2 separate regions of the Homo sapiens genome follow, and region 1 is linked to region 2. The links are contacts of gene promoters, found by promoter capture Hi-C in human tissues and cell types (Jung and others, 2019). All regions are on one chromosome and are shown on one strand. Each heading gives the region's core, a stretch centred on a gene start or on the middle of the fragment in contact. The rest is flanking DNA. Distances are from core to core; before and after follow the strand shown.

Region 1 (4,129 bases), core at 979-3,478, 400 kb before region 2:
AGAAGCCCCTACCGCTCCCACTGTTTCCTGGACCCCTCACTCTCCTTCCGGGAGGAGGCTGGGAAGCCTCCCCAAGGAGCAGGGATGGATCTGTCCTCAAACCTTCCCTAAATCTGCTCTGTGCCAGGCCCTGAGCTAGCTCCAAGACTTAACCCTACACCCAAAGAGTTCCCAAACAGACAGGCAGAAGCAACCATTAGAATCAAGTGTCTGGCCAGGCACGGTGTCTCATGCCTATAATCCCAGCACTGGGAGCCTGAGGCAGGAGGATCACTTGAGCCCAGGAGTTCTAGACCAGCCTGGACAACATAGTGAGACCCTGTCTCTACAAAAAAAAAAATTTTAATTAACTGGGTGTAGTGGCGTGTGCCTGTAGTCTCAGCAACTAGGAAGGCTGAGGCAGGAGGATCGCTTGAGCCCAGGAGTTGGAGGCTTCAGTGAGCAGTGATCATGCCACTGCACTCCAGCCTGGGTGACGGTGTAAGACCCTGTCTCAAAAACAAAAAAAATCAAGTGTCATTGCACTGGGAGCCCATATTAGCCAAGTTAGGGGTGGCCATATAACCTAGACTCATGGTATGGGGTGGGTGGTTAAGAACGGCTTCCTGGAGAAGGTGATATTTAAGGGAAGTCTTTCAGGAGCTGACCTGAAGGTGAATTTTGTTTATTTTTATTTATTTTATTTATTTTTTATTTTTTGTTTATTTTTTTTTGAGATGGAGTCTCGCTCTGTTGCCCAGGCTGGAGTGCATTGGCACGATCTCAGGTCGCTGCAAGCTCCGCCTCCTGGGTTCAAGCAATTCTCCTGCCTCAGCCTCCCGAGTAGCTGGGACTACAGGCACCCGCCACCACGCCTAGCTAATTTTTTTCTTTTTTTTTTTTTTTTTTTTTGTATTTTTAGTAGAGACGGGGTTTCACCGTAGCCAGGATGGTCTCGATCTCCTGACCTCGTGATCCGCCCACCTCAGCCTCCCAAAGTGCTGGGATTACAGGCGTGAGCCACCGAGCCCGGCCCTGAAGGTGAAATTTTTAAAGGAAAAAGGAACATTCAGGCCAAGGAGACTATCTATGCAAAGGCCAGGAGCAAAAGGCTTAGGGCACTTGGGGAATAGGAGCTAGTTGAGCTTCCAAGGTTGGGTACAAGGTACAGTTTTTCCCAAGTCGTTGGAGCTCCAGTTGCTCCTGGGGGTCACAGCCTTATCTGAAGTTGGCAGACAACTTCAAAACTGTGACACCACAGCTCACAATTCATTCATCCCCACACTGCAGACCAGTGGCTCCTCAAAGGTCCCAAGACCTGTGGTTGCTTCCAGATCACAAGGCCTCCTCCCTAAGACAGGGACCCAGCCAACCTGGGTCACCCCATTACTATTCTGGGCAATTGGCCACGACCATTCTGGATCCTGCCCTCCCGGGGCGTGCTGCAGTGACAGCCTACCAGCCTCTAGCCCAGTGCTTCCCTACCCTATCCTAGCTCACGGTAGAATCCCTGGAATTAAACCAACTAACCAACAAACCAAAAAATGCCCAGTCTTCACCCAAAACACTTACATGAGGATCTGTCCTGCTACACATCGGTGATTTCAAAAGCATTTGTCAAGACATTGAACTGTACATTTAAGATCTATGCATTTTACTATATGTAAATGATATCTGAAAATAAGTTCCCAGGGGACTCTAACGCAGTGTGAAGAACTACTGGTCTAGACCGAGGGCTCCAGCACCCAAGAAGACACCATGTGCCTCGTACCCCATCGTACACACACGTTTCTTGGGACTTCGCTCTGAACTGGAGCGTCCACGATTCAGGGGGCAATGAGATTCGACCCAAAGGCAGTTCATTTAACATCTGTTTTTCTCCCAGCAACCAGCTCGCCTAAGCTTCTGATTGGCTGGAGGGCACGGGGCCTTTCGCTTCGCGTTTTGTTTGTAGATTCTTATTGGTTAAGAAGAGCGTCAGTCTCCCACCGCGTAAGAGTGTAGTCGGCGTTGAAACTCGGCGGCGACTGGTCCAGCAGAACCAGGGACGGGGAGAAGGATCAAGCTAGCTCTTCATTGGTCCCTTCCCCTCGGTGTTGGCCACGAATCCGCCCCTCTCTCCAAGTTCCGTTAGCTCGCGGCTTCGCTCCTCTCCCAGACTCTCGCCCCCATTGGCTGCAGGCCACGCCGTCGCCCCGCCCCCCGGTCCTTCCAGCGCGCCAATTGGCGGCTGCGTGGAACGTGCCAGGGAGAGCGCGCCGTGCCCGCGGAGAGAGCGCGGCGCGGGAGGCCGGCGGCCGGCCGGCTGCATGGCGCGCTGCGAGAGGCTGCGCGGAGCGGCCCTGCGCGACGTGCTGGGCCGGGCGCAGGGGGTCCTGTTCGACTGTGACGGGGTGCTGTGGAACGGCGAGCGCGCCGTGCCGGGCGCCCCGGAGCTGCTGGAGCGGCTGGCGCGGGCCGGCAAGGCGGCTCTGTTTGTGAGCAACAACAGCCGGCGCGCGCGGCCCGAGCTGGCCCTGCGCTTCGCGCGCCTCGGCTTCGGGGGGCTGCGCGCCGAGCAGCTCTTCAGCTCCGCGCTGTGCGCCGCGCGCCTGCTGCGCCAGCGCCTGCCCGGGCCTCCGGACGCGCCGGGCGCCGTGTTCGTGCTGGGCGGCGAGGGGCTGCGCGCCGAGCTGCGCGCCGCGGGGCTGCGCCTGGCCGGGGACCCGAGCGCGGGGGACGGCGCGGCCCCGCGCGTGCGCGCCGTGCTTGTGGGCTACGACGAGCACTTCTCCTTCGCCAAGCTGAGGGAGGCGTGCGCGCACCTGCGCGACCCCGAGTGCCTACTCGTGGCCACCGACCGTGACCCATGGCACCCGCTGAGCGACGGCAGCCGGACCCCTGGTGAGCGCGGGAATGGCGGGGAAACTGAGATGGGGGCGACCTGCGCATTCGCCTCCACGCCTAAGGGTGAGGGGCGGGGAAGAGGCGTCTCCAGGTGGCAGGTGGGGAACAGGAGAGTGCGAGGGAGGCCCAGGGTGCTTTGGTGTGGGGGGCGGTTGATCCCTGTAGCCGTCATCCTGTGAGGCGCAGCAGTGTGGTCCCTGTTGGACAGATGAGGAAACTGAGGCCCTTTGTAACTTAGGGAGTTGGGCGGAATTCTGCCCTACCCACCATCGGGGTGGGGTTGGAGAGGAAGCCTGGGAGGATTGTCCCCCTGTGTGAGGGTTGAAACACCATTCCCAGAGGCAGGGTGTAGGCAGGTGTGTGGGGAGCAAAGGCGGTGGAGTTTGACCTCAGTTCCAGGTCCAGCTCCAGCTTCACAGCTGTGTAATCGTGTTCAGTTACATAACCTCCAAGCATCTCTGCCTGGGTGAGAAATGGCAGTGCTCAGCATGCCCGGTGACGGTGATCAGGGTGAGTGCCTGGCACATAGTAGGTGTTCAGATGATGTAAGTTGTAGCCAGAGTCCCCCATGTTACAGAGAACTTAATGAAACAGCTTTGTGTGTGTTCTTCTTTGGTTTCCAAATTACTCTGGAGATGGAAGTTATTGTCCCATTTCTCAAGTAAAGAGACTGAGGCAGCCGGATGCAGTGGCAACAGCCTGTAGTCCCAGCTACTCGAGAGGCTGAGGCGGGAGGATTGCTTGAGCCTAGGAGGTCAAGGCTGTAGCGTGCTATCATTGCATCTGTGAAAAGCCACTGTACTTCAGCATGGGCAACATAGTGAGACCTTATCTCTAAAAGAAGAGGAAAGAAACTGAGACTAAGAGAAGGGAAGTGAGCTGCCCAAGAACAGATATAGTGAGCCCCTCCACCTCCTGTGTCCCCACACACCTGCCTCCATCCTGCCTCTGGGAATTGGTGTTTCAGCCCTCACAAGTAGGGACAGTCCTCGCAGGCTTCCCCTCCAACCCTCCAACCGCACCCCAATGATGGGTGGGGCAGAATTCTGCCAGCAACTCTCTGGCAGAGTGATAGAGCGCGGGAACCTGAATTTGGCCTTTGTGACACCGACCTCCAGGGCAGTCTTCACTGCTGTCATCTTGCGAGTTCAGCCCTGCAGGGGAGGCAGAAGCAAAAGGAGGCTCCTCCATTGTGGAGGGTTTGCGTTAGACAAGAGCAGGTGGCAGCAGAGGCTAATTGGCAGTGGTCAGTGTGTGTGGACAG
Region 2 (4,141 bases), core at 645-3,144:
TGCATACCACCATGCCTGGCTAATTTTTGCATTTTTAGTAGAGACGGGGTTTCACCATGTTGGCCAGGCTGGTCCAGATATATGATCTAGATCTTATACCAACTCCTGATCTCATGATCCACACTCCTCAGCCTCCCAAAGTGCTGGGATTACAGGCGTGAGCCACCGCGCCCAGCCTCTCCTTTTAATCTTGACTTTCACAAATACCTGGTGGCAGGTGTCATTTCCCCATTCTACACGTACCTGAGGCTCAGAGTGAGACAGCGACTCACCCAAGATCTCCCAGCTACAAAATGGCAGAGCCTGGGCCTGAGCTAGCATGGTCATGGGCTGGAAGAGCCACAATCCATGTTAAGGCACCTGGGTTTGGAGACTGCTGCCTTTTTTTTTTTTGAAACGGAGTCTCTCTCTGTCGCCCAGGCTGGAGTGCAATGGCCTGATCTCGGCTCACTACAACCTCCCTCTCCTATTTTCAAGCGATTCTCCTGCCTCAGGCTCCCAAATAGCTGGAATTACAGGTGTGCGCCACCGCACCTGGCCTTAGACTGCTGCTTTTTGAAACCAAAATTCTGGCCTGGAAACAGAGCTTGGTTTTCCCAGCCCCAGCCCTGCCGCTATGATACCAGAGGAAGAGGCTTCCCAGGGCCTCCGTTTCCTTGCCTGCACAATGTGGCTGGCAAGATTTGGTCTTCTCTCACAGGGTGGTGGTGAGCTTTCAAATCCTGTGAAAGTGATCTCACAGGAGAGCAGTGGACACGTGGGAAGGCTGTTATTGTCACGGCATTCTGCACATCTGTCCGGACTCAATTAGCCACCTAAGGAGAGAGTAGGGCGGGGCTTCCACCGGCCGTGGGATATGTGGATAATCATCCTTCTGTATCTTTCTTCCATGGCTCCTGGGGCAGCTGGGGAAGCAAGCTGGATGGGCCTGGCCCCATGCTGCCGGATGAGGTGGATGCCTGGCTGTGGCTCTGGGAGAGCCAACCTCCCCCAGGGAACCCACTTTACACAATAGCAGTGGCAGCAGAGGCTGGCGAGGAGACAAGATTCGGACTCTGGGGAGCACTGATAGCATTTCCCGAGCCTCAGGTACATGCGGACCGTGACCCTCCCTGGGACCCCAGGGGGGCTGCTCCTCAGGACTAAGGAAGGAGGAGGGGGTGTGAGAAACCTTTCACCATATACCATAGAAAGCATTTACCTCAATGGCCTTGGTTTACATATGGGGAAACTGAGGCACATAAAGGGAAGGGAGCATGTCCAGTCTGTCCTTAATAGCAAGACCCACTGAATACACCTCTCCTGGCTCTCTGTTTAGTGTTTGGACGTTCAAAGATCCCTAGACTAGGCGGCGGGAGTTTCAGGGCCACGATCCAGATCTTACACCAACTGTGTGTGGCCCCGCACAAAATCACTCCCCGCTCTTTGGCACTTAAGTTGGCGAAACTGGGATGGGCTGGGACCTCAAAGGGCCATTCTAGTAGGGGAGTCACAGGCCCAGGTGGTGAAGGGGTGAAAGGGCATGATGTCTTGGGGTTTATAGTCCACTGAGCCTCGCCGGAGGTAACCCCGGCTCAGGGATGCTTTCGTTGCCATGGCAACCGCCGGGCCGGCGCGGGCCCCTGAGTGCAGCTGAGGAAGCTGGGACAAACCCTGCCCTTCCCAAGATGGCGGCGGCGGCAGGGCAAAGGGCGGGGTTAGACGCTGTCAGCCTGTCCAGACCGTTCCTCTGTTTTCGCTTGTTCCTACTAACAGCGAGCTTCCGCCAATACTTGTTCTCGTTCTTGGTTCCGAGCGTCCCGGGAGCCGGGAAGGGAAGGATTGTCTGCAGGGATTGGAGCAAATATCCAGTGGGGGGAAAGCCGGGACTTCCGCGTCTTGCCGGAAGTGACGTGACAATCGCGGCCACCGCCAGGTGGAACGGCAGGTGGGTTCAGGTACCAGCCTGGCCGGGACCCGGCTGTGGGACCAACGCTTCCGGTGAGCGACAGAGGCAGCTCCCCAGGGCCTGGAGACCCGTGGGGCGGACTCTGGGATCTGAGCCTATCGCCCTGGCCTGGAGCCCCCCTTTGTACCTAGTAAGAATCACCTACCCAGCCCCCCACCCGGAGACTGTCCCATCCCACTCCAGAGGGAAGAGGAGGGCACTGCTGTCCCGTATGAGGTGGTGGAGGGAGGGGTGGCGTTGGCATTTAGGCACTTGGGTTCCTTAAATCCTATGCTCCTTTCTCTCCCGGATCCAGTTCCCCATTCCCCTACCGAGCTGGGCAGTTAGCCAGCCCACTCCAACTCTCGGAACCATGTTTGCAGACTTGGATTATGACATCGAAGAGGATAAACTGTGAGTATTTTATTCCCCCAAGTTCCAGCAGTATAGGAGCCCCAAGTTCCTCATTTCCCTGGACTTCCCAGTCCCACAGACCCTTGCTTCTCAGCGGTGGATCAGTTGTTGTACTGAAGCAGCAATGGACCCTGCTCTCCCAGGAGCTCACTATTTGTAGGGGGCTGTGGACAGTTAAAGGGATAATCACAGCTCAGTGCCATAAGGGCACTATTAGCATGACTTGGTGACAAGAAGAGCAAAGCAGATGGAGCAGTGCTTCTGCTGGGATGGTCAAGGAAAGCTTCATGGAGGACGTAGCAATTGAACCAGGTTTTGAAGGTTGAATAGGAATATTGTAGACACCCTTCCTTCCCAACATAGGTTGTTAGTAGGACAGATTTTCCCATTAGAATATATCCTCTTTCAGATCAAGGAGTGGGTGCAATGCCTTTCTCTATGCTCAGCACTTAGTAAGGGACTTGACGTCAGTAGGTTGTTAGCGAATGTTTTTTGAATGAATAAGTGAATCAGCGTGAGTACTTATCATAAAACACCAGTCAATGCTAATTTATAGTGGAAACCGAGAGGTAATCGAGCAGTTGAGAGGTGGGAGGTGGACAGTTTAATAGAGGAAGACTCCCTGGAGTAGGTGGCCATCATACTACATAGATGCCTGATAAGGTGACAAGGACAGAACCTGGCTCAAATCTCAGAGATCGAATAAATGAAAGGGAAGGGGGACCTATTTTTATGGAGTGCCTGCTATGGACTGGGTTGCTGTTAGTGCCCTCCATGCATGGTTAGAAGAACTCTGATAAGGGTGCTCATCCACATTTTATGGATGAGGAAATTGAGATGCACAGAGGCTGACTTACCCAAGTCCCATAGCTGGCCAGGCACGGTGGCTCACGCCTGTAATCCCAGCACTTTGGGAGGCTGAGGCAGGCGGATCAACTGAGGTCAGGAGTTCAAGACCAGCCTGGCCAACATGGTGAAACCCCGTCTCTACTAAAAATACAAAAAAATCAGCCAGGCGTGGTGGCAGGCACCTGTAGTCCCAGCTACTTGGGCGACTGAGGCAGGAGAATCACTTGAACCCGGGAGGCGGAGGTTGCAGTGAGCCGAGATTGCGCCATTGCACTCTAGCCTGGGCAACAAGAGTAAGACTCCATCTCAAAAAAAAACCAAGTTCCACAGCTGATAAATGGCAGAGCTGGGGTTTGATCCCACATCTGCTTAACTCCAAGAGCTGTGCATGTTCCAGCACAAAATGTTGTTTTGTCCAAGGGAGGGAGAGAAAAAGCTGGGCAGCCAGTGGAGCCCCTCAGGAGTTTTAGAGGGCCCACCCGCTCCAGTCATCCTTCTGCCAGGAGAGTCAGCCTAGCTTGCTTTCCTTTCTAGCGGAATCCCGACTGTGCCTGGGAAGGTGACCCTGCAGAAGGATGCTCAGAACCTGATCGGGATCAGCATTGGAGGAGGGGCCCAGTACTGTCCCTGCCTCTATATCGTCCAGGTATTGGGCGCTTTGGAGGGGGGCACAAGGTACATCCCTACTTGGGCATGACAAAGGCAGGTTCATTTCTCCACACTGCATAGCTGACTCCTTCTCATTCTTGAGGTCTGACCCTCTCAGAGGGGCTTTCTGACCACCTGCGCTGCGTTGCTCTGCCCTGTCTTCTCCCCTGTGTCGCTCTGTTTTTTTCCTTCTCGGCACTTATTACTTGTTATTTGCCCTCTGTCTAGTAGAGTAGACTCTTTGCACTGAGGGCAGTGTCCTGGTTTGCTTTTTCACTGCAGTAAGCACCAGGTACAGTGCCT

Evidence for each region. The method cuts DNA at HindIII sites, captures the fragments that hold promoters and counts their contacts. A contact is called where the count stands out against the background at its distance.
Region 1: a contact is called between the fragment with the promoter of PDXP here and the fragment with the promoter of PICK1 in region 2, in 1 of the 25 tissues and cell types used here (pancreas).

The regions. Positions count from the first base shown.
Region 1 is chr22:37,656,495-37,660,623 of GRCh38, forward strand. It overlaps PDXP (pyridoxal phosphatase), which reads left to right and starts at 2,229. Exons shown (of 2, transcript NM_020315.5): 1 at 2,229-2,862. The coding sequence starts at 2,289. It overlaps PDXP-DT (PDXP divergent transcript), which reads right to left and starts at 1,883. Exons shown (of 6, transcript NR_109952.1): 1 at 1,761-1,883. RefSeq lists enhancers at 1,786-1,855, 1,866-1,915, 2,104-2,605, 3,432-3,943, 3,944-4,129 and silencers at 2,106-2,415, 2,616-2,725. The HindIII fragment of the contact is 18,911 bases long and covers 1-4,129 here.
Region 2 is chr22:38,055,510-38,059,650 of GRCh38, forward strand. It overlaps PICK1 (protein interacting with PRKCA 1), which reads left to right and starts at 1,895. Exons shown (of 13, transcript NM_012407.4): 1 at 1,895-2,078; 2 at 2,244-2,341; 3 at 3,725-3,836. The coding sequence starts at 2,301. RefSeq lists enhancers at 1,347-1,972, 1,669-1,728, 1,973-2,596. The HindIII fragment of the contact is 14,484 bases long and covers 1-3,444 here.